4 separate regions of the Homo sapiens genome follow, and regions 1, 2 and 3 are each linked to region 4. Evidence: promoter capture Hi-C in human tissues and cell types (Jung and others, 2019). All regions are on one chromosome and are shown on one strand. Each heading gives the region's core, a stretch centred on a gene start or on the middle of the fragment in contact. The rest is flanking DNA. Distances are from core to core; before and after follow the strand shown. Region 1 overlaps BRD10 (bromodomain containing 10). Region 2 overlaps BRD10 (bromodomain containing 10). Region 3 holds the start of RANBP6 (RAN binding protein 6). Region 4 holds the start of MLANA (melan-A).

Region 1 (5,634 bases), core at 803-3,302, 110 kb before region 4:
AATCTTGCCTATTTCTTTCTATTGTTACCACTTAAGTAAGTGTTCTTGACTGTCCTTTACAAAACGTACAGTATGTAACTTATAGTTTGAACTTATTTATTATGTATTGTGTGTGCTTACTTTTTGTGTATCTTCTTTGCTATCCATGTAAGCTCAGAGCAGACAGGAATGTTGTCTGTGTTGTTGCCAAACCTACCCCACTACCTATAAGTGCTTAGTTAATATTGAATGAAGGAATGAATGAATGGATGGATGGATCTGCCTGAAATTTGTTTTGGTGAAGAAGTGAGGTTGAAATCCAGCTTAATTTTTTTCTCAAATACCCAGCCAGTTGTCGCAACATCAACTTTCTCCATTATTTTGAATTACCATGTTTATGATATATTATTGGTGTATTTGGATCTATTTTTCTTTATCATATGTCTCTGGTGTACTTGGATCTAACTTTCTCTGGTGTGCTGTTGATCTAACTATTCATCTTCTGATATTAAACTTTATTACTGTGACTTTAGAATTTATTTTAATATATTTGGTAGAGTGAGTCCTCTGTCAAAAAAAAAACCCATTTTTTCATGTATTTATTTTTCCATTAGATATGTGGCTTTTAAATAAGTATAGCAGAAGCAACATTTGCATCACCCATGTTTTGTTCACTTCGCATAAGAAATATGCAAGAAAACAATAAAAATCACTAGTTTGTGGGGAATAAGAGTGGTATTCTTCTCATTCATGAAGTGAAAGATGAAAAGTTGATAGCATTACTTATTTTCTGTAGACACTGTAATAGCCACTTGCTACATTCTTCTCATTTTAATTATGTCCTTAGCTCTTGCCAAGTCCCTATATCTCTTTGTTAAGACCTGTTATTTCAGGTAGGCAGGCGCTAAGACTTGCTCTAGCTTTCCTGCCTTTCTTCCTTGTGCCATTGTCTGAATCTGAAAGTGTCCTAAATTTACAATCAGCTACTTTAAAGCCTCATCAATGCTTAGGAGATAAATAGAAGAGTTGGCCAGGGACAGGAAGCCAAGGTATTTACCTGCGTACTTTGCAGACTCATTACATTTTTAGCATCTTCTAGGGAACATTAGCATATTGAGACAGTATGAGAGTTAGTGACCTAGAGAGCTTCTGTTCTGCCTGCATTGAGAACTCCTGAGAAGTAGGAATAGCTGTAGCAGTAGTAGTATGTTCAGCAGAGCAGCCCTAACTTACTAAAAATGCTTATCACACTTGTCAAGGTTGATAAGGCACTTTTCAAATACTGTTTGTCTGTAAATAAAAACTTTGCATTTGCCTTTGTGCCTTTCCTAAATTCAGAAAAACAGAATAAATATATTCTAAGCAAAACGATTTTTTAAAAATTAGTTACATGGCTCGGGCATGGTAGCTCATGCCTATAATCCCAGCACTTTGGGAGGCAGAGGTGGGCAGATCACCTGAGGTCGGGAGTTTGAGACCAGCCTGGCCAATGTGGTGAGAGACCCTGTGAAATCCCAACTCTACTAAACATACAAAAATTAGCCAGGCATAGTGGCATATGCTTGTAATCTTAGCTACTTGGGAGACTGAGGCACAAGAATTGCTTGAACCCAGGAGGCAAAGGTTGCAGTGAGCTGAGATTGTGCCATTGCACTCCAGCCTGGGTGACAGAGTAAGACGTTGTCTCAAAAACAACAACAACAACAAAAAAAAAAACCAAGTTACATGGTCTTCAGTTGTTCTTTGGGGCGTTATGTCATTTACCTGTTGCTGTTGCAGAAATGAATAATGGCTTTGGAAGGTTTTGTTTGTATTCTTCTCCTCTGGAGAGGAATAAATACATTTATTTTTATATATGTATTTATTTACTGTTGTTGTTTAATGGCTTTACTTACCACTAAGGGCTCCTAAATCAGTATCTTGAACCCCCCGCCTTTAGTTTTAGTTTCATATTTTTGTCCATAGAACTTTTCCAGTTGGTTGTGTAATTGTTATCTCAAAATGTTAAAAACTGAGTATATTTCTAGCCCAAATCTCCTTCCCAGTTTTCCTGTTTTTCTTTTTGACTTTTCACATTTTTGTCAGTGGTGTTATCATTGTTTCAGCCTGAATGTATCAGTCATCTTTGATGTTTATACTTTTAATTCCATATGTACAAATTGTTAGCGTGTTCTTTGCTAAATCCCTGTGGCTCAGTAAATATTTTGATGAATATATTTGAATAATATGAATGAATATTTTTGTCTTTATTTAGTATTCTCTCTCCACTCTTTCCTATCTATCTAAAACTGTTCTTTCTGCAAAGTCCAATTCAAGTTCTTAACAAAGGGTGACCAGATAGGGTATAGAAAGGTTGACTAAAATAAGAACTGAAAAATACCCTTTGCATTTCCTAACTGGGAGATCTCTGGGAAGAGGGATTTCAGTGGAGTAGCTCCAAGCAGATGCCACATTATAGATTGAGATGTGAATGAAAGATGAATTGGATCAGCAGTTTAGATGTTCCTCAGGGAAACTTGGACTTGTTTATATGCTAAAGCAGCTAACAGACAGAGAAAGAGAGTTTGAAGGCTCAGAAGATAATTAATGAAATACAAATTCTGAAGACCTGTGTAGTGATTCATTTTTCATTAGAGGATTGGAGGCACATTTTTCACTGAAACATAAAGTAAGGATGGGCCTGGATTTAGATAATTTTGGTTTTTGAGAAGCAGGAAGTTAATGGAGCTCTTACTTAAAAACTGCCGTTTTCTCTGAAATAAGTTATGGGCAGTCACCTGCGAGAAAGTGATGGAATGAAGCTTTTGAATAGTGGTAGCATTTGGGCCGGCATGGTGGCTCACGCCTCTAATCCCAGCAATTTGGGATGCCAAGGCGGGTGGATCAACTGAGGTCAGGAGTTCGAGACCAGCCTGACCAACATGGAGAAACCCCGTCTCTATTGAAAATGCTGAAAATTAGCCGGGCGTGGTGGCATATGCCTGTAATCCCAGCTACTCAGGAGGCTGAGGCAGGAGAATTGCTTGAACCAGGGAGGCGGAGGTTGCAGTGAGCCGAGATGGTGCCATTGCACTCCAGCCTGGGCAACAAGAGCGAAACTCTGTCTCAAAAAAAAAAAAAAAGAAAAATGATAGCATTTGAAGTTGCTGTTATGGAGAATGAAAGAGGGAGTTGACCACCTTCAAAGAAGTCATATTAGGTACAGTTGAGCCCAGCTGAGGTTATAGTTAGACAACAGATTATAAGGGGATTATTTTTTCTACCCTGCTCAGTAGGAGAAGTATAGGAGTGAAGGGGCCTTTGGCTGAGATTTAAGAGAGAGGCTACATGCCTGAGACAGAAATATAATTGGTCCAGGGAGATAAGAGAAGAGGTTAGTCATGTATTATGGGTCTCAACTGGTTATCTATGTGAATAGCTAAAAGAAGTTGAATTATGTTACAGCAAATGAGAGTCAGACAAGGGACTGGAGGTCTGAAGGAAGACGAAAAAGAAATTCAGGGGGAATAAGGTAATGACTGGGAAAATAGAAGGTAAAAATCAAGTAGAAAGTAAGTTTAATGGTCTTTAATAAGTGCTTTTTTGTGGGTATGAAGACTACTTCTTTTCCTGAAAACCTTTTTGTGTGTGAGGTAGCTTATAGCTGCAGATAAGAGCAGTGGTCTCCAGACTTTCATGATCTGGCTTCTCAAGCAGCAAACATTTTGAATATATACCTTCGATTATGCATATTTATTTATAAATCATATATGGATACTTTACTATTATGTTTTATATATTATAAAACATAAGCTAAGCTAGATACTTAAAATGAGAGAGTAAATAAGCATATTTAAAAAATTTTTTAACATTATTGATGGTATAAAAAGTTTTTGGTGAGGGCATTGTGATACTTCATTAGTTTTGAGAATCTTGGTTTCGTACTTGGCTGTAGAGCTATTTGAAAGGCTTGTTTTAAGTTAGGTTTATTTTGATACTTGGTTTTAATGGCTGTTGTAGCACAGAGCTTGTAAAGATACATAAATGTAGACAGAAGCTTAGATGAATGATGCTTATCTATCAAATATGCAAATTTTTTTGTCAGAATTCCCCAGTAAAATTTTCTGTCTTTCCTAATTTAATTAGTTGTTCTTGGAAAGTATTTCTAAGGTGTGCTGTGCTGTTAATCTCCATTTGCCCCTGTAAATGCATTTTCTACCCTTGTGCACTGTGCTCTGTGCCCCAGAAGGCTGATTTATAAGGATCAAACTGGTATGCCTTGACCTCTGACTTCTGATTGGGTTCAGCCAATAGGAGGGACTGACAGGAGGACAGAGAGGACAGACATATTTATTCCTACAGCTTCCTTTTTGCTGGGTTGCAAGTTGTCAGAAACTGTGCTCCATCGTTATGGCCTTCTCCTACAGTCACCGCTCTCTGGGTTCCAGTAACTATTCACTCTCCTACCCATATTGGGCTTAGAGTGGTAAAATAGTTCTCTGCTGTGGCTAGCACTGGAGTGCTTCACTATCCCTTCCTATTTTCTCTCAACCTTGCCTGCACATTTGTAAATAGTCCCTTCATTAAATAAACATCACATCTTTTTACATATTATCTATTTCTTTCCAGGACCCTTAGGGCTAAAGTTGCATTTTAATATTTTTAAATGGATAGGTGAACTAAGTGATTGAAACTCTTCATTTAGTTGTTTTTTTTTTTTTTTTTTTTTTTTAATGGAGTCTCACTCTGTCACCCAGGCTGGAGTACAGTGGTGAGATCTCGGCTCACTGCAGCCTCCGTCTCCCAGGTTCCAGTGAGTCTCCTGCCTCAGCCTCCTGAGTAGCTGGGACTACAGACGCATGCCACCGTGCCCAGCTAATTTTTTATTATTAGTAGAGATGGGGTTTCACCATGTTGGCCAGGCTGGTCTCAAACTCCTGACCTCATTTGATCCACCCGCCTTGGCCTCCCAAAGTGCTGGGATTACAGGCATGAGCCACTGCGCCTGGCTTCATTTAGAATATTTTTAAACAGATTAGATAACCATGAGTTTTGAGTGTGCTGATAGAATTTTTATAGGTGACACATGTACATTGTTTTTGATAGCAAAAGAAAAATCACATAATGCAAAAGTGTTCAAACATCTATTTTTAGTAGGGGAGTAGGTGTCAGTTTGTATGTTAACTATAAGTAAAGCTTAATATCAATTCACTTTCTTGTTAAGACTTATTGTAATAATTTTAAACAGAATCAAGCCTCTGAATTCTGAAATTTGGAATGTATTAACACAGAAAAGACTTTACATGCTTTGTGTTAAAAAAAAAAAAAGGGGGAGAAAGAAAGTAAACGTAAAACTCAATAAGTAACCATAATTATTGGTTAGTGTTTGCTTATGGATGGCAGCATATTATTATTTTCAAACTACTGTCAGATTTCATGAAATGATTTCCCTAATAGACAGAAAAAAAGCTTGAATTTTTGCAACGGGAGAGCTATTTTAGTGTGTTTTTTTGCAATGGGAGAGCTATTTTAGTGTATTTATTTGGCCATTGATTATTTGACAACCCTATTTGAAAGGTAAATTTATTTTTTTATCTTATTTTATTCACTGATTAATGGAACTCAAGTAGATAGTAACATGTTTAATCGGGATTCTTTTACTATGGACAATATAGA
Region 2 (5,726 bases), core at 2,121-4,620, 68 kb before region 4:
CTGGTCCTGGACTCTTTTTGGTTGGTAAACTATTGATTATTGCCACAATTTCAGCTCCTGTTATTGGTCTATTCAGAGATTCAACTTCTTCCTGGTTTAGTCTTGGGAGAGTGTATGTGTCGAGGAATTTATCCATTTCTTCTAGATTTTCTAGTTTATTTGCGTAGAGGTGTTTGTAGTATTCTCTGATGGTAGTTTGTATTTCTGTGGGATCGGTGGTGATATCCCCTTTATCATTTTTTATTGTGTCTATTTGATTCTTCTCTCGTTTTTTCTTTATTAGTCTTGCTAGCGGTCTATCAAAGCAGTGTGTAGAGGGAAATTTATAGCACTAAATGCCCACAAGAGAAAGCAGGAAAGATCCAAAATTGACACCCTAACATCACAATTAAAAGAACTAGAAAAGCAAGAGCAAACATATTCAAAAGCTAGCAGAAGGCAAGAAATAACTAAAATCAGAACAGAACTGAAGGAAATAGAGACACAAAAAACCCTTCAAAAAATCAATGAATCCAGGAGCTGGTTTTTTGAAAGGATCAACAAAATTGATAGACCGGCAGGTGATTTTTAGTAGAAGGCACAAAGACAATTTGGTTGAAAATGATTTGATAATTTTAGCACAGTTTGAGGCAGTTTGGGTAATATTTAAGCATTTTAATCTGCTTTTCAGAATTGGGGTTTCTTTCCTCCTTTTTAAGTTTTGAATTCATTTTTACTCATTTAGGCCTGTTCCTTACTATTGGAAACATTATAGAATAAATAGAAGACAGTGGAAACAATATAATGTCCATTATCTCATGCTTGATCCTATGTTTTTATTCAATCATAGAAAAGAAAAATATGTCCTGGCGATTAGAAATTTTTCCTTGATGACCTGTTTTCAAAATTTAAATGTTTCTGAAAACTTTGTCATTTAAGCAAGACAGGCAAGATTAGCTGTGCATAAATTAAAAATAATTATTTAAGAGTAAAAAAAAACTCAGAGCAAAAAAAATTCAGATCATTTGGTTTTCTTTCATTGTTTTTTCTTATTATAAAAGCAGTACATTTTCTTTAAAGAATATAGAGACAAGCAAAAAGAATAGCCCTTTCCTCATTACCTAGTAAATGTTTATTCTTTTATCACTTGCTTAAGGAAGCCTCCCATTATCTTGTGACTTGTTAAAATTTTCCTTGCTGTTCATGCTTATAGCACCAGACACTTCTCCTTCGTAATACTTATTATAGTTGCGTTTACTTCTAGGTTATTTTGAGGATTGTCTCCTCTCTATTCTATAACATTCTTAGGGACAGAAGGATTATTTCTGGTTTTGCATCCCTGGCACTTTAGCAGATTGATTGATGCATTGTGTGGGAATATACTGAACAAATAAATGAACACATTTAATATGGTTCACCTAGATGTAACTAAAACTAACTCCTTAATATGTATCTTTCAACACTTTTTCAAAGACTATGTATTTTTGAATAGGATTATACTATACATACCATTTTAACAATCTGCTTTTTTTCCCCTGCGTATCAGTATACCATGAACATCTTTGGGCAATAAATAGGTCCCTGTAGCATCATTTTAAATGGCTGTGTAGGATCCTGTTGTATTTTGCAGTTAATTTAACCAGTCTCCTTATTGGACATTTTGGTTGTTTTCAATAATATACTATTATAGATTGTGTAGAGCAAGTAGAGTTGGCGAAAATGAATTAGAAATTCTAAAAATTAGGGGACTTTTTATAAAATCTGAAAAAACACAAAAAAGATTACAGACGCATTAACAGTTACAAAAAGCTTATGGTGTTTTAAGATACTTTCAACCAGTTCTGTTTGGAAAGTTTTCCCCCCTCAAATAGTCATTATTGTCTTTTCTTTTCTTTTTTTTTTTTTTTGAGACAGAGTCTCACTCTTGTTGCCCAGGCTGGAGTGCATTGGCGCATTCTCTGCTCACTGCAACCTCCACCTCCTGGGTTCAAGCAATTCTCCTGCCTCAGCCTCCCAAGTAGCTGGGACTACAGGCATGTGCCACCATGTCCGGCTAATTTTTGTATTTTTAGTAGAGATGAGATTTCACCATGTTGGCCAGGCTGGTCTCGAACTCCTGACCTCAGGTGATCGGCCCACCTCGGCCTCCCAAAGTGCTGGGATTACAGGCGTGAGGCAGCACGCCCGGCCAGTAGTTATTATTTTCACCCAAATCACTTTATGGTAGCACCTCTAAACTGACTAAAATGAATAAGACAAGTGGTCTTATTCTCTTATAGGTGAAAAAACTAAGTTAAAAAGTGGTCAGTGACCTCAAGTGAATAATAGTTAAGTACAGATAAAGACAACACAATAAAAGGTCAAGTAGAGAAAAAATCAATGTGCTGTGCTAGTCTGGGAAGGTTTTACAAGGGATGAAGGACTTTGAAGAATAATGGGAATTGGATAGGTGGAAAATGTTGAATAACACGAGCAAAAGCATAGAGGTATAATTAAGTGAGGTGTCACTGGAAGAAGCACAATTAAAGAAAACTTTTGTGGAAAAGTTGAGGTTTTAGAAGCTGTTCGAATGATAGAAGGGTGTCATTTTTGGGTGATCTTTCTAAGCATGTGGTACTATGTTAAATAATTGAATCAAGATTCCATTGCAAGGAATTGAGCTTGAAATAAGATATATCAGATGTGTAAAAAGTAATGAGCTGCTTTATAGGAAATGACTGAGAAGGTAATGTAATCTACAGTGTTTGATTATTTCCAGGCCCGTATCTGTGAAAAGGTTATTATATAGTTCTGTAGTGATAGCACTAGAGACCCTAACTACATGTGTCTTACGGAGAAAACTTTTAGCATACCAGCTGAAGATTTCAAAATATAAAGAGAGTGAAAGGATTTACTATACTCCATGTCCTTTTATTTTTTCAATCCTTCTACTTTTTGTCTAAAAAACCGAGTACTCATTGAGTGCTTATTGTATGCCAGGCACTGTTCTAAGCCTTTATACATGCTATCTCATTTAATCTTCATGAAGACTTCAAAAAATAAATATTACTATTATTCCCCATTATTACAGATTTTAGAGGTTTTTAAAAATTGAGATGGAGATTTATTTGTCCAAAGTCACACAGCTAGAGCTAGTAAGTGACAGGATTAGGAGAAAGGATCTTGCAAGATAATTAGGATACCATTAAAGAGCTATGAAAAGAAGCTGGCAGGGGTAAGATGAAGGGGTAGATGATAACTATAACGAGACAATTCTAAATCCAGGTAAGGATTGATTATGTGACTTTTCTATCACAATGATAGAAGAAAATTCTATTTTGAGAGAGATGCTGCAATAAGTAGCAGAATTTGGCAACTGATTCAATATTCTAAGTTAAAGGGTAAAAAGAAATGGGTGTTCAGGAGTTACTGAATTATGTGATAGCGTTAAAGAATTACCAGTATGATAAGAAATTTGCTTATAGGTAAGAAGAATAAAAGGAAAATAAACTGTTTTGTTAAGGTCAAATTGCTTACTTGAGATAGAACACTCCAGAAACTCCTAGAATATAGTTAGCTCAAGACATGCACATTTAGTAAATAAAAGACAAGTTTAGGCTCTAGTTCTGTGACTTTACATCCCAGGCACTTTGCAAATTCACTGTTTAATAATACAAATACCCTTGAGTTTTTACTTGCAACAATGATTAATATCTTAGTATTCATTTATTTATTAAGGTTCCTAAGGCGAAAGTACAGAGGGAGGAGTGAATGTGTTGGGATAATTTTAAAACATGGAAAGGCTAAATCTAGGAAAGCATTGAAGTACCTTTTTTTTTCTGTTCTTTTTCTTCCTCCTATCCCTCCCTGAGAGACAGGATCTCGCTATGTTGCCCACCTGGCCTCGAACTCCGGGGCGCAAGCCATCCTCTCACCTCCGCCTCCCAAGTAGCTGGGACCACAGGCGAGCTGGGATCACAGGCATGCACCACCACACTTGGCTTAAAGTGGAAGTCTGAGTATGAGTAGCCCAGAGGTCTGAGGAGTGAAGACAGGAAAACCAGGTGAAGGAGAAGGGTAAAGAATGAGGAATAAGAAACTGAGAAAGGGGAACTGAAAGGGGGATGATAATCACCTTCTTATGTAAAGAAATATGCCATTTCTTTTATAAAAGGCATATTTCCAGATTCTAGAAAACTAGAGTTTTATTCCTCAGTTACAGTATAAAATATATCTTTAGTTATAATTTTCCCTCTCAGGTTGGGCATTCTTTTCTTAAGTTGTTCTAAGCATAGTGTTTTAGAAAGCTTCATTAGGGTATACTTTTGTAACATTAATTACTAAGGTTTATTATTAAGGTTTATTAATGTTTCCTTATGCATTTTCCAGGTACAGGCTGACACTTTCTGTTTTAGGCTCAAGAGTGGTATTGAAATTCTGTGTATGTTTTAATTTGACTTCTGATTTCAGCATAATTATAGGTTTGAGAATTTTATTCTATTTTATATGACCAAGTAACTTAGGGCAGTGGAAGTAAAAGGCCTGGGATATGATCAAGTTGAGTGATAAGGGAAGGGAAGCCCACTGGTAGTATGTAACTTGCCCTGTATATATTTTGTCCTGAAGCAAAAACAGGTTACCAAATAAAGGCATGATTTTGTAGTATCTCATGCTCGATTTTTAAAATAATATTTAATTTTTTTGAAGTGCTGATGTTTTTACTGAAGAATACAGGAAAATTTATACTGAAATTGTTTTTTTCAGGATATATACTGAAGGTATTAAAAAATAGTAAATGTACAAATCATCCAACCCTAATAAAAAGGAATGCTCTGAACCAAACAGAAGCAGATTACATCCCTTTCAAAAATTTGAAAGAATGCAGTATTTTACCATAAAAAGAGTACAGCTTTGAAGTGAGACAGACCTAATTTCACATGTATGCTCCTAGTGCATATTAGCTACAGCTCCTCCATCAGTTTCTTTACCTGTTTATAGCCTGTTTCTTTATCTGTGATAAGTGAGGTAATACCTACTTGGCTGTATTGTTAAGATTAATTAGAATAACAAATGCGCAGTATGTCACTTGGAGCTTGGCACATGGTAGGAATCAATAAATGGTAACTTAAGATATTTGTGCAGTAGAATTACATAATGGAAGGAGCTTAGACTTTGTAGTTAGAATCCCTGACTGTGGTGCTTACTTACTGTGTGACACATGAGTGAGTTAATTAATCTTTTTGATCTTCAGTTATCCAGTATTACAGTAGAGTTATTACCTACCTGGGAGGGTTATATTGAGAAATAAATAAGTTAATTTATACAGACCACTTTACTAAGTATCTGACACACAGCAGGTTCTCAATAAATGTTAATCTTCTTACTACCACTACTAGGTCATGTTGAAACTCTTTGGTGAATTGTTTAAATTATTTAAAATCGTTGTCAGTGTTTTCTTCACTATAAAGTAGACTTAAATGGACCCTCAGAATTGTAAACAGTTACCTGCATCCCTTTTCCTACCCCCTAGACTGTTGGTGACATTTCTGAAAAAAGTAGGATTCTTGTATTTAGGGATCACTTCTTAGAACTTATGTGTGCTAAATGCTGTAAATACAGAGTGAATAATGTGATTTCTGTCACCAATAATTTACAGTATAGTAAGGATGACAAACATAAGAACAGACAATTACAGTACTCTAAGTTAAGTATTACATTCATTGATTTGTGTACAAAGTAGAGTGGTAGTTTAGAGGACATGCATAAGA
Region 3 (5,576 bases), core at 2,336-4,835, 120 kb before region 4:
TGCATAATCTTAACCCAGAATTTTTCAAACATTTTTTTCTTTTTCTTTTTTCTTTTTTTTTTTTTTTTGAGATGGAGTCTCCCTCTGTCACCCAGGCTGGAGTGCAGTGGTGTGATCTTGGCTTACTGCAACCTCCGCCTCCTGGGTTCAAGCAATTTTCCTGCCTCAGCCTCCCTGAGTAGCTGGGACTACATGCGCACACCACCAAGTCCAGCTAAATTTTTTGTATTTTTAGTAGAGACGAGGTTTCACCATGTTGGCCAGGCTGGTCTCGAACTCCTGACCTCAGGTGATCTGCCCAACTTAGCCTCCCAATAGCCTCCCAAAGTGCTGGAATTACAGGCATGAGCCACTGCGCCCAGCTCATTTTTTTCAAAGAGGTTGTACCAATTTACCTATACTCTCAACAAAAATATAACTGAGTTTCCTGTTGTTCCACATCCTCAGCAACCCTTGGCTTTGTCAGACTTTTAAAGCATTGTGGTAGGTCTGTGGTGGTGTATCACTGTGGTTTTTTTCAATGTCTTTCATATGCTAGTGGATATAGTATTAAGTAATTAATTAATTATTATTAACATTTCCTGAAACGGCAAATGCAAAGTCCCTCCAGTTAGACTTTTTGAAGGAACAGTAAGAAAACCAATGAATGGGCCAGGTGTGGTGGCTCATGCCTGTAATCCTAGTACTTTAGGAGGCTGAGGCAGGTGGATCACTTGAGGTCAGAAGTTTGAGACCGGCCTGGCCAACATGATGAAACCCTGTGTCTACTAAAAATATAAAAATTAGCTGGGTGTGGTGGTGCATGCCTGTAATCCCAGCTACTCAGGAGGCTGAGGCAGGAGAATTGCTTGAACCCAGGAGGCAGAGGTTGCAGTGAGCTGAGATCGTGCCATTGCCCTCCAGCCTAGGTGACAGAGCGAGACTCCATCTAAAAAAAAAAAAAAAACAAAGAAAGAAAGAAAACCAATGAATGCACAACTGTAGTCATAATCTTAGAACCAGAATTGATCTTATCAGCGATTCTCAAATGTTGGTATTTATATAAAAACCCAATGTGCTGGTTGAAATTGTACATTCTTAGTCCTCAGTCCCCCCAGAATTCTGGGTTAATAGGAACTTGGGCCCTAACATCTATATTTTAAAATAGGTATCCCAAGCAATTCTAATGCAGTTGGTTTTCAGTCTACAGAATGAGAAATTCTATTTTAGAAAATAGCTCTGTTTCATATTACAGTGTCTTTTTTATGAGACAGAGTCTTGCTGTGTCGCCAGGCTGGAGTGCAGTGATGCAATCTCGGCTCACTGCAACCTCTGCCTCCCAGGTTCAAGCGATTCTCCTGCCTCAGCCTCCCGAGTAGCTGGGACTACAAGCATGTGCCACCACGCCCAGCTAATTTTGGTACTTTTAGTAGAGACGGGGTTTCACCGTGTTGGCCAGAATGGTTTTGATCTCTTGATCTCGTGATCTGCCTGCCTCAGCCTCCCAAAGTGCTGGGATTACAGGTGTGAGCCACCATGCTCGGCTACAATGTAATTTATGAGACTACCTACTTTGTCTATCATCTGGTTAATGTAAAAGCTACGACTTTCTAATTTTTGTGGGTATATGCGGCAGCACTTTACAAAAACAAAATTAAGGCTGCTTGGAAAAGTTTAAGACAGAATTTGCAGTAAGTGAAGCCTCTGATCATGCTGCAAAACCAAGAGTAGTTAATGGGGAAGCAATATGGTGAAAAGAGCATCAGTGTCACTTTCAGAAGAGGTAGAATTGAGACTCAGGTGTGTCATCCTAGGCAAATCCTGTAACTTCCCTTAGTTTCCACTTCTCACCTAAATTTAGTATTATATCTATCCTAGCAATCTCTCAATTCTGTATAAGGGTCAAAATGAGTGTGGCAAGTGCTAATACAAAAGTAAGACCTAATCATTGTTATAGGAATGAAACTTGTTTTTGATTGACACACCTGCCTGAATTAAAGAAACAAACTGGCCAGGCGCGGTTGCTTACACCTGTAATCCTAGTACTGTGGGAGGCCGAGGCGGGTGATCTCTCACGAGGTCAACAGATCGAGACCATCCTGACCAAACATAGTGAAACCCCGTCTCTACTAAAATACAAAAATTAGCTGGGCGTGGTGGCATGCGCCCATAGTCCCAGCTACTCAGGAGGCTGAAGCAGGAGAATTGCTTGAACCCAGGAGGCAGAGGTTGCAGTGAGTTGAGATCGCACCACTGCACTCCAGCCTGGCGACAGAGCGAGACTCCATCTCACAAAAAAAAAAAAAAAAAAAAGAAACAAATTTAGTTTCATCAACATTTGTTTCTTGGAATAACCTCAGCAGCTTCCCACTAATGGTTAGTTAGGATTCTAGTTAACCGCATCCCTTCATATTTCAGTTTAGACAAGATGCAAGGAAAATCTTGAGTAACTTGTCCTAGGATACAAAATTAATTTAGTGACAAGGCCAGGATGCAAGTCTGTCTTCTGATTATTAGTTCAGATCACTTTCTACCATACTTTACTCAGTTGTCTTTCCCATTCTTTATTATAACCAACAGGCCAGGTGATTCTGACACACACCAGATTTTGAGCTACCACTCTACTGCATTAGATGTGGTAGTGGGGAAGTAATTATTATTTTATTATCACACTTATTATTTTATAAAGCTTTATTGTAGTATTATTTATATGCCATACAATTCACCAATTTAAATTTAACAACTCAATGGTTTTTAGTATAATCACAGAATTGTGCAACCATCACAATTAATTTTAGAACATTTCATCACTCAGAAAGAAACACCCTATTTGATAGCAGTCATTCTCTATCCTCCCCTCCCCCCAACCTCTGGCAACCACTAATTTCTGTTATACAATTTGCCTGTTTGGTACCTTTCATACAAATGGAATCATACAATATGTGGTTGTGACTGGTTTCTTTCACTTGGCATGTTTTCAAGATAGACTTATTGTTTTAAAATTATCAAAGTAACAATATAGTTTAGAAATAAAAGAAAAAAATCACTCATAATCTGACCAGAAGCAGTGGCTCACACCTGTATTCCCAGTACTTCGGGAGGCCGAGGCGGGCAGATCACCTGAGCCCAGGAGTTCGAGACCAGCCTGGGCAACATGGCGAAACCCTGTCTCTATAAAAAACACAATTAGCCGGGCGTGGTGGCGCGCGCCTGTGGTCCCAGCTACTGGGGGAACTGAGGCGGGGAGGATCGCTTGAGCCCAGGAGGTTGAGGCTGCAGTGAGCAGGGATCGCGCCGCTATACTCCAGCCTAGGTGACACAGCCAGACCTTGTATCCAAAAAAAAAAAAAGTCATGATCCCATTCTAATCAATGCTTTTCTTCTCTCGCCTGCAAGTGCACGTTTATCTTATTGAAAAACAAATGGAGGATGCCATTGGCCTCCACACGGCTCTCACCTCTCTCCAAAACCTAGCTCGCAGCCTGCCAGAGCGCAGCTAGAGTTTCTGGGCAGAGGAGGGAGAAGCACCCCGCCCATCCCCGCCGGCGCCTCGCCTACGTCACTGCTTCGAGCCGCAGACCCCCTCCCTCCTTCCCGGTCGCGGTAGCTTTGACAGAGCGCAATGGCGGCAACCGCGTCTGCAGGGGTGCCGGCGACCGTGTCAGAAAAGCAAGAGTTTTACCAGCTTCTGAAGAACCTGATCAATCCAAGCTGTATGGTGCGGAGGCAAGCAGAGGAAATCTATGAAAATATCCCAGGTCTGTGTAAGACTACCTTCCTCTTAGATGCCGTCAGAAATAGAAGAGCAGGTTATGAGGTGAGACAAATGGCTGCCGCACTGCTACGACGGCTTTTGTCCTCTGGGTTTGAGGAGGTTTATCCAAATCTGCCTGCTGATGTTCAGAGAGATGTCAAGATTGAACTGATTCTGGCTGTTAAGTTAGAAACACATGCTAGCATGAGGAAAAAACTTTGTGATATTTTTGCAGTGCTGGCCAGGAATTTGATAGATGAGGATGGCACTAACCACTGGCCGGAAGGTCTGAAGTTTCTTATTGATTCAATCTACTCCAAAAATGTGGTTCTATGGGAAGTTGCACTTCACGTTTTCTGGCACTTTCCTGGGATTTTTGGGACCCAAGAGCGGCATGATTTGGATATCATCAAACGGTTGTTGGACCAGTGTATTCAAGATCAAGAACATCCAGCAATCAGGACATTATCCGCTAGAGCTGCAGCTGCATTTGTACTTGCTAATGAGAATAATATTGCTCTTTTCAAAGACTTTGCAGACTTGCTTCCTGGAATCTTACAGGCTGTGAATGACTCATGCTACCAGGATGATGATTCAGTGCTAGAATCCCTTGTTGAGATTGCAGATACCGTACCTAAGTACTTGGGTCCTTATTTAGAAGATACTCTACAGTTGAGTTTGAAGTTATGTGGAGACTCTAGGCTTAGTAATCTGCAGCGCCAGCTGGCCCTCGAAGTTATAGTGACCTTGTCTGAAACTGCCACTCCGATGTTGAAAAAACATACAAATATTATTGCACAGGCAGTTCCTCATATATTAGCAATGATGGTTGATCTACAAGATGATGAGGACTGGGTAAATGCTGATGAAATGGAAGAAGATGATTTTGACAGCAATGCAGTTGCTGCGGAGAGTGCACTAGACAGACTGGCTTGTGGGCTTGGTGGAAAAGTTGTTTTACCAATGACCAAGGAGCATATCATGCAGATGCTTCAGAGCCCTGACTGGAAGTATCGACATGCTGGATTAATGGCCTTATCTGCCATTGGAGAAGGATGCCATCAACAAATGGAATCAATTCTAGATGAAACAGTTAACTCCGTTTTGCTTTTTCTTCAGGATCCTCATCCAAGGGTGAGGGCTGCAGCCTGTACTACACTTGGACAGATGGCTACAGATTTTGCACCTAATTTCCAAAAGAAATTTCATGAAACAGTGATTGCAGCTCTGTTACGTACCATGGAAAATCAAGGTAATCAGCGTGTGCAATCACATGCAGCTTCTGCTCTTATTATTTTTATTGAAGACTGCCCTAAATCATTGCTAGTTCTATATGTGGATAGTATGGTGAAAAATCTACATTCCGTCTTGGTGATTAAACTTCAAGAGTTGATTCGGAATGGAACTAAGTTGGCTTTGGAACAACTTGTGACAACCATTGCATCAGTTGCAGATACAATAGAAGAAAAATTTGTCCCATATTATGATATATTCATGCCCTCACTAAAGCACATTGTTGAGCTTGCTGTTCAGAAGGAACTCAAGCTTCTGAGAGGAAAAACTATCGAGTGCATTAGCCATATTGGTCTTGCTGTTGGGAAGGAAAAATTTATGCAAGATGCATCAAATGTGATGCAGCTGTTGTTGAAGACACAATCAGACTTAAATAATATGGAAGATGATGACCCTCAGACCTCTTACATGGTTTCAGCATGGGCTAGAATGTGTAAAATTCTTGGAAAAGATTTTCAACAGTACCTTCCACTGGTTATCGAGCCTCTTATTAAGACTGCTTCAGCTAAACCTGATGTTGCTCTCTTAGACACACAGGATGTGGAAAATA
Region 4 (6,252 bases), core at 1,999-4,498:
ATACTGACCTCTGCCCTAGCCTCTCGTCGGATGGGATTGTGCAAATATTTGCCTCTGCTGGCCTGCAGCATAACACTTAAGAGCATGGACTCTGGAGGCAAACAGACCTGGATTTAAATCCCAGCGCCACCATGTCTGGCCACACATTTCCTAATTTCTCTAAACCTTTCTTCATTTACAACACAGCAAGAATGATACCCACCAGGGTGGGTGCCACGGGGCGGGGGGCGGGGGTGGAGCAATAAGCAGAAGTGACGTGTGCCCCTTGAAAGGAACGGTCCTAGCCTCTCCTTCACCTCCTGCTTTCTGTTGGCAAGATGTGGAGGTGATGGCACAACATCTTCAGCCATGGGGACAAAAGTGACATCCCAAGGGAGTAACCAGCAAGAAGAAAACGAACAGGCCTTGAACTCTTTACTCTTGAATTTTTACACGAGACATAAAAGTATATTTTAAAGAGTCTGTTGAGTGATTATACACAAGCTGAAACGATACCCTAACTAATAGCACGGGCAATGGGCTCCCCTCCCTCAAAGAGTATGTTTTTGCTGTCAGGACATTTTCTGAGAAGATACCGCCGCCCTCATCTCCAATTGGCCAGGGATATTAGAGGATCCTATACCAGGGTCTTCTGAGGAAATGCTGTCTGCCTGAACTCTTCCTCAGTGCCTTTGTTGGGCTTTACATCTTGCTGGTCCCTGCGGTTGACTGTTAACAAAGATTGTTCAACAGCTCTTTCCAAAGAAAGAGCAGGTTCACAGGGAGTTCTGGACAGACCACATAAGAGGGTGTTGTCCTGTTAGAGTCCCACGCAGAGGGTGGGGCCTCCCCTGCCCCTGCCACCCAGCACGTACAGAGTATGTCCCTTTCCCACTCCCAGCACATACAGAGTATGTCCCTGCAGCCTCTGGGTTTTCATTACCGCACTTACATTTGCTGAAATTAATCTCATGCCTAACTCTCCCACTAAGTTGTGAGTTTTTTCAAAGATAAAAACAGTGTCTCACGCCAGTATACAATGCTTAGCATTTAGAAATGCTTAATCATATAAATACTTATTTTTAATTCACTCATAAAACCCAATGTCTTTCCTTAGGATAAAGTTATACTGCAAAGGCTGTGACCTCCATCTTCCTCTCGAGTCTGGCTGTGGGCTGAGTCACACACACCTGCCCGTCATCCTTACTGGCTCCTTGGCAACTCACTTTTATTCTGTCTGCAAACCACCTTCAGGAATTTGAGTGGAGGAGACAGAACAAGGATTGAGGAGAGAGGCATTGTGATCCTGAACAGATGTTTTTCCACTTGGGAACCTACAGATAAGACCCAATAGTCAAAAGTGCACCCAAAAATGGCAAGATCCAACCTTATACCATTCCCATCTTCCTGCCTGTTTGGCCTCAGAGAAGCTTGACTGAGCCCCTTATAGAAGCACAGAATCTCCTCCCCTTGTTGCCAGGGATGTTACTGTCTGGGGAGATAAACACTAGGGAGATTTACGAGCAGGCATGTACTGGTGGAAGTCAGCAGGCTGTGTCAGCAAACGGCAAACTGGAAGCCCTGCTGGGTCTGGTTTTGAACTTACTCTTCAGCCGTGGTGTAAGAGTGGCCGTGCCCCTTCTTGGGGTAACCATAGATGAAGTGAGCATCTTCTCTTGGCATCTTGTAGGGTCAGGGCACAGGACACCTAACAGAAGGAGCATGTGGGCATCATTAATGCATCCAAAGCCACCCTATTCATCATCTCATAAAGACCCACAACAGCATCCTCACTAGGTGACCAATATCCATAGCCAGGACCCTTTGGTTTCTCTCTGTGAGGGGATTTGCACCTGCTTCTTTCATTCATATCAAGGGCTTTAGCAATAGCTCAGGTTTCTAACCCCTCCTACTAACTGAAAATTAAGTTCAAAGAAGAAACTACAAACAAAAGCAAAAAAGACTTGCAAGTTGAGTTATTATTTGGTGAAAAAATATTCCTCATTTGCCTTCAATTTGACTCTGCACCATAAACTTCTAGAGAAACAAACAAAATGCATTTTCACTGATTCTCCACCTTCCCTGGCCCAGGGCTGTGGCTAACAAAATTAGAGGAGTTATTTTTCTCCAAAGTTATTGTTGGATATCAATCCCACAGACAAACAGAGGCTATGATACATAACGTGTGTTTCCCAGAGCACCCGTTGCCTGTGCCTCGCGAGGGTGCATGAGGTTGAGCACTGAGCACAACATCTTCCAGCCCAGCTTTTCAGCAAAGGAAACCACCCCACACAGGGGCTTCAGCCTGTCCCCAGGCACTCCACCCAAAACAAGCCGAGGAAGCCCAGGACCTGACTTTATCTAACAATGTGTTTCCCTTCCTACTTAAGTCAATTTCTGCTTCTCTCTGGTTCAAGTCCCTTGGCTAGGATTCTTTTTTTTTCTAACTATAACACATACAAATGAACAACAAAAAATATCCATAAACTGCAGTGGCCGTAATTCAAGTACGCTCATTAAAAACCAATAATGGAAGCTCCTTTCCTTATTATTGTGTATTTTTCTGCTCTCTTACTGTCCTCATGAATTTCAAAGGTGTGATCCCCATAGAATTATATTAATGAGCCCCAGTTTAAAACAACAGGGAGAGGTGAGACAGAAGAGTGGGGATTTCGACACATGACCCCTTTCCACTGGGACATTTTATGTGTAATTTGCCCTTCCCAGTTGTAAAAAAGAAATGAAAGTCAAACTCACCAGTCCTCTCAAGTGAATAATATAGGACTGAACCCTGTGTTCAAAATGACAGAATGGAATCTTAATTCTTCATTAAATTGTTTTAATACATCCCATACCTCAAACTCAGAGCCTTGGCAAATGGTGCAGCAACAGCAAATGCGCCTCTTACTACTCAGACCAGGAGAAGTGGTTCTTTAAGTGACAGGAGAACACATCTACCTCAGGGAGGCTGCTTCTCCCCAGCAAGATGCCATCCTGAATAATTGCTTTTCTTCTTGGTAGTGTTGGAGGACTGAGAGAGGATTCAGGAGGAGGCTTTGTGAGCCCTCTGAGGTTGGAGACTGACAAACGTTGCGGAGAAATTCTGTTGATGTCACACATCAGCGGGGCAATGAGGGTAGGCAGAGGACTTAGCCAGAATTTCCCAAATCCTATTCTGGGAGAAGAGGACTATGATTATGGCGAGAAGGCAACGCTCTTACCTTCCTTAATGAGAGTCCTCTGTCTGCTGGCTGGCCGCGTGTATGAAGACTGCTTCTCTGGCTCTTAATCGTTTTGACTTATTTTTTTTCCTGGTTTTGAGTCCCATGATAGTCACGGGTTTAGATTTCTGACGGGGTCGTCTGTAATTGCTAAATTGGCATGAAAGAAACCAACTTTATTCCTTCCTTCAAAAAGTCACAGCTGACTGTGGCCTCTGTTTTCCCCAGTCCCAGTGCTCTATCCTAGGGAAGCCATTTATTTTAAATGTTGGTCCCTCCTCCATAGGATTGCCATGTCACATAAAATATGACATGAGCCTAGTTATAATGATTTAAAATTCATGGTCCGACACCACAATTACTTTTGCACCAACCTAATTGATGTCTAAGTAGGTCATATTCTACCTGCAAAAAGAAAATTTCATCTATCCCTTTCACATAGATGGAAACCCACTATCTCCAGTGGACAGTTAACACCAAAGGCATCACAGAGAACTCATGGAGCTCAGCTGAGGAGGATGCCCAGTTAAATTTGAACTTCAGATAAACAATGAACAGTTTCTTAATACAACTATGTCCCATACAATATTTTTAGGATAAATATGTCCACATATTCTATGGGACATATACACTAAAAGAGTTATTTTTTGTTTATCTGAAATCCACATTTGTTTTTCTCATGTCAGATAGGTAAGGTGCCCATGTCATTGTAACAAGGTTTGAGGGAGGCATATCTCACACGTGAACATGGAAACCCAATCATCACGCTTATGACCCACAAAAGGATCTGAAATCCAAACTAAACTGGGTTCCCTATTCCCTCCCTCATCTCCATCTCAAAGGGTTGAAGAGTCTTTAGGCACAGGTCTGGAGAGCATCTAGTCCCAGACTCTCATAATCAAGAAAAGGAAATAGAAAAATCCCTGAAACCTCCTCAGCTGAGCTCCATGAGTTCTCTGTGATGCCTTTGGTGTTAACTGTCCACTGGAGATAGTGGGTTTCCATCTATGTGAAAGGGATAGATGAAATTTTCTTTTTGCAGGTAGAATATGACCTACTTAGACATCAATTAGGTTGGTGCAAAAGTAATTGCGGTGTCGGACCATGAATTTTAAATCATTATAACTAGGCTCAAACACATTTTTTTTTTCTGAGATGGAGACTCACTCTGTCGCCCAGGCTGGAGTGCAGTGGCAGGATCTCAGCTCACTACAACCTCTGCCTCCCAGGTTCAAGCAATTCTCCTGCCTCAGCCTCCTGAGTAGCTGGGACTACAGGTGCACGCCACCACACCTGGCAAATTTTTGTATTTTTAGTAGAGACAGGGTTTCACCATGTTGGCCAGGATGGTCTCGATCTCCTGACCTCATGATCCACCTGCCTCAGCCTCCCAAAGTGCTGGGATTACAGGCATGAGCCACCGCGCCCAGCCTCAAACACATCTTTATTAATCAAAATAGGAACCATTGCAATGAAGACATTTTTGCCAATGAAAAATAAGTTTGTTTATTCCTGTAGCATACACATTCATGCTTCAAGATTCGATGAACTCTTGGAAAGCATTTTCTGCATCCTGCTGGTTGTGGAAGGATTTTCCCTGCAAAAAGTTGTTAAGATGATTGAAGAAGTGGTAGTCGGTTGATGAGAGGTCAGGTGAATATGGCAGATGAGGCAAAAGTTCGTAGCCCAATTTATTCCAACTTTTGAAGCATTGGTTGTGTGACATGTGGTTAGGTGCTGTCATGGACAATTGGGCTTTTTCTGTTGATTAATGCCAGCTGCAGGTGTTGTACTATTCGGTGCAACTCATTGATTTGCTGAGCATACTTCTCAGATATAATGGTTTCACCGGGATTCAGAAAGATGTAGTGGATCAGACCAGCAGAGACCACCAAACAGTGACCATGACCTTTTTTCGGTGCAAGTTTGGCTTTGGGAAGTGCTTTGGAGCTTCTTCTCAGACCAGCCACTGAGCTGGTCATTGCCAGTTATCATATAAAATCCACTTTTCATTGTACATCACAACTCAATTGAGAAATTCTTCCTTGTTGTTGTGTAGAATAAGATAAGACAACATTTCAAAAAGACCGTTTTTTAAATTTTCACTCAGCTCATGAAGCAACCACTAAATGAGCTTTTTCACATTTCCAATTTGCTTCAAATGCTGAACAACTGTAGAATGATCGACGTTGAGTTCTTCGGCAATTTCTAGTGTAGTTGAAAGAGGATCAGCTTCGATGATTGTTCTCAACTGGTCGTTGTCAACTTCCAGTGGCCAGCTCCTCATCTTCCAGGCTCTCATCTCCTTTGCAAAACTTCTTGAACCACCACTGCCCTGTACATTCGTTAGCAGTTCCAGGGCCAAATGCATTGTCGATGTTGCAAATTGTCTCTGCTGCTTTATAACTCATTTTGAACTCGAATAAGAAAATCACTTGAATTTGCTTTTTGTCCAACATTTCCATAGTCTAAAATAAACATACAACAAAGAACAAGTGATGTCTTTAGCAAAAATACATAAAGTGAGAAATGCCCATTAAAATGATGTATAACATAACCACATTTATTTAAGAATGTATTTAATATCAAACAGCAAAGTCCGACAGTGCAAAAATCACAGTTACTTTTGCACTCACCTAATAATTGACCCCAGAGCTGATTCTACTTAACATCATGATCTATCTTGGACAGCCCAGAAGCATTTCAGTGGGACACAACAGTCACCTTTGCTCACCAGCTCTCCATAGCCATTGTGAACAAACAAAACAAAGAAAAAAAACCCCACCGGAATATGACAGTCCTAGCAGCTCAAGACTTAGATTAAATGACCTCTAAGGTCCCCTTTCCCATAATACCTGAGGACCCATTCCTTTCAGATCCTGTGATTTTTCTGGTTTCCATCGTGAGCTATGGACAAAGGCTGTCCTGTGTAAGGGCAGTACCAACCCACCAGATACTGGATAGTCACCACTGAAAATGGTAAGGGAGAAAGAAAACAAAGAAGGGTTGATCTTTATTAGGCAAGCCAGGGAGAGCCTATCTGTAAAGGAGG

Evidence for each region. Contacts are between HindIII fragments. The study calls those that stand out against the background at their distance.
Region 1: a fragment that was not itself captured here is called in contact with the fragment with the promoter of MLANA in region 4 in 7 of the 25 tissues and cell types used here (dorsolateral prefrontal cortex, lymphoblastoid cells, mesenchymal stem cells and 4 more).
Region 2: a fragment that was not itself captured here is called in contact with the fragment with the promoter of MLANA in region 4 in 3 of the 25 tissues and cell types used here (mesenchymal stem cells, mesendoderm cells and spleen).
Region 3: a contact is called between the fragment with the promoter of RANBP6 here and the fragment with the promoter of MLANA in region 4, in 1 of the 25 tissues and cell types used here (adrenal gland).

What each region holds. Positions count from the first base shown.
Region 1 is chr9:5,992,369-5,998,002 of GRCh38, reverse strand. All of the region lies in intron 1 of BRD10 (bromodomain containing 10), which reads left to right. Among named protein-coding and RNA genes, the nearest start is that of MIR4665, 13 kb to the left of the region's middle. The HindIII fragment of the contact is 6,479 bases long and covers 1-5,291 here.
Region 2 is chr9:5,956,723-5,962,448 of GRCh38, reverse strand. The region is part of intron 3 of BRD10 (bromodomain containing 10); the gene reads left to right. Among named protein-coding and RNA genes, the nearest start is that of MIR4665, 48 kb to the left of the region's middle. The HindIII fragment of the contact is 5,201 bases long and covers 770-5,726 here.
Region 3 is chr9:6,013,633-6,019,208 of GRCh38, reverse strand. RANBP6 (RAN binding protein 6) reads left to right here and starts at 3,585. Exons shown (of 1, transcript NM_012416.4): 1 at 3,585-5,576. The coding sequence starts at 3,602. RefSeq lists an enhancer at 3,707-3,766. The HindIII fragment of the contact is 3,814 bases long and covers 160-3,973 here.
Region 4 is chr9:5,887,885-5,894,136 of GRCh38, reverse strand. MLANA (melan-A) reads right to left here and starts at 3,248. Exons shown (of 5, transcript NM_005511.2): 1 at 3,201-3,248; 2 at 1,586-1,687. The coding sequence starts at 1,662. LOC124902341 (small nucleolar RNA U13) reads right to left here and starts at 3,987; the gene lies at 3,881-3,987. It also overlaps a transcript of BRD10 not described here. The HindIII fragment of the contact is 14,558 bases long and covers 296-6,252 here.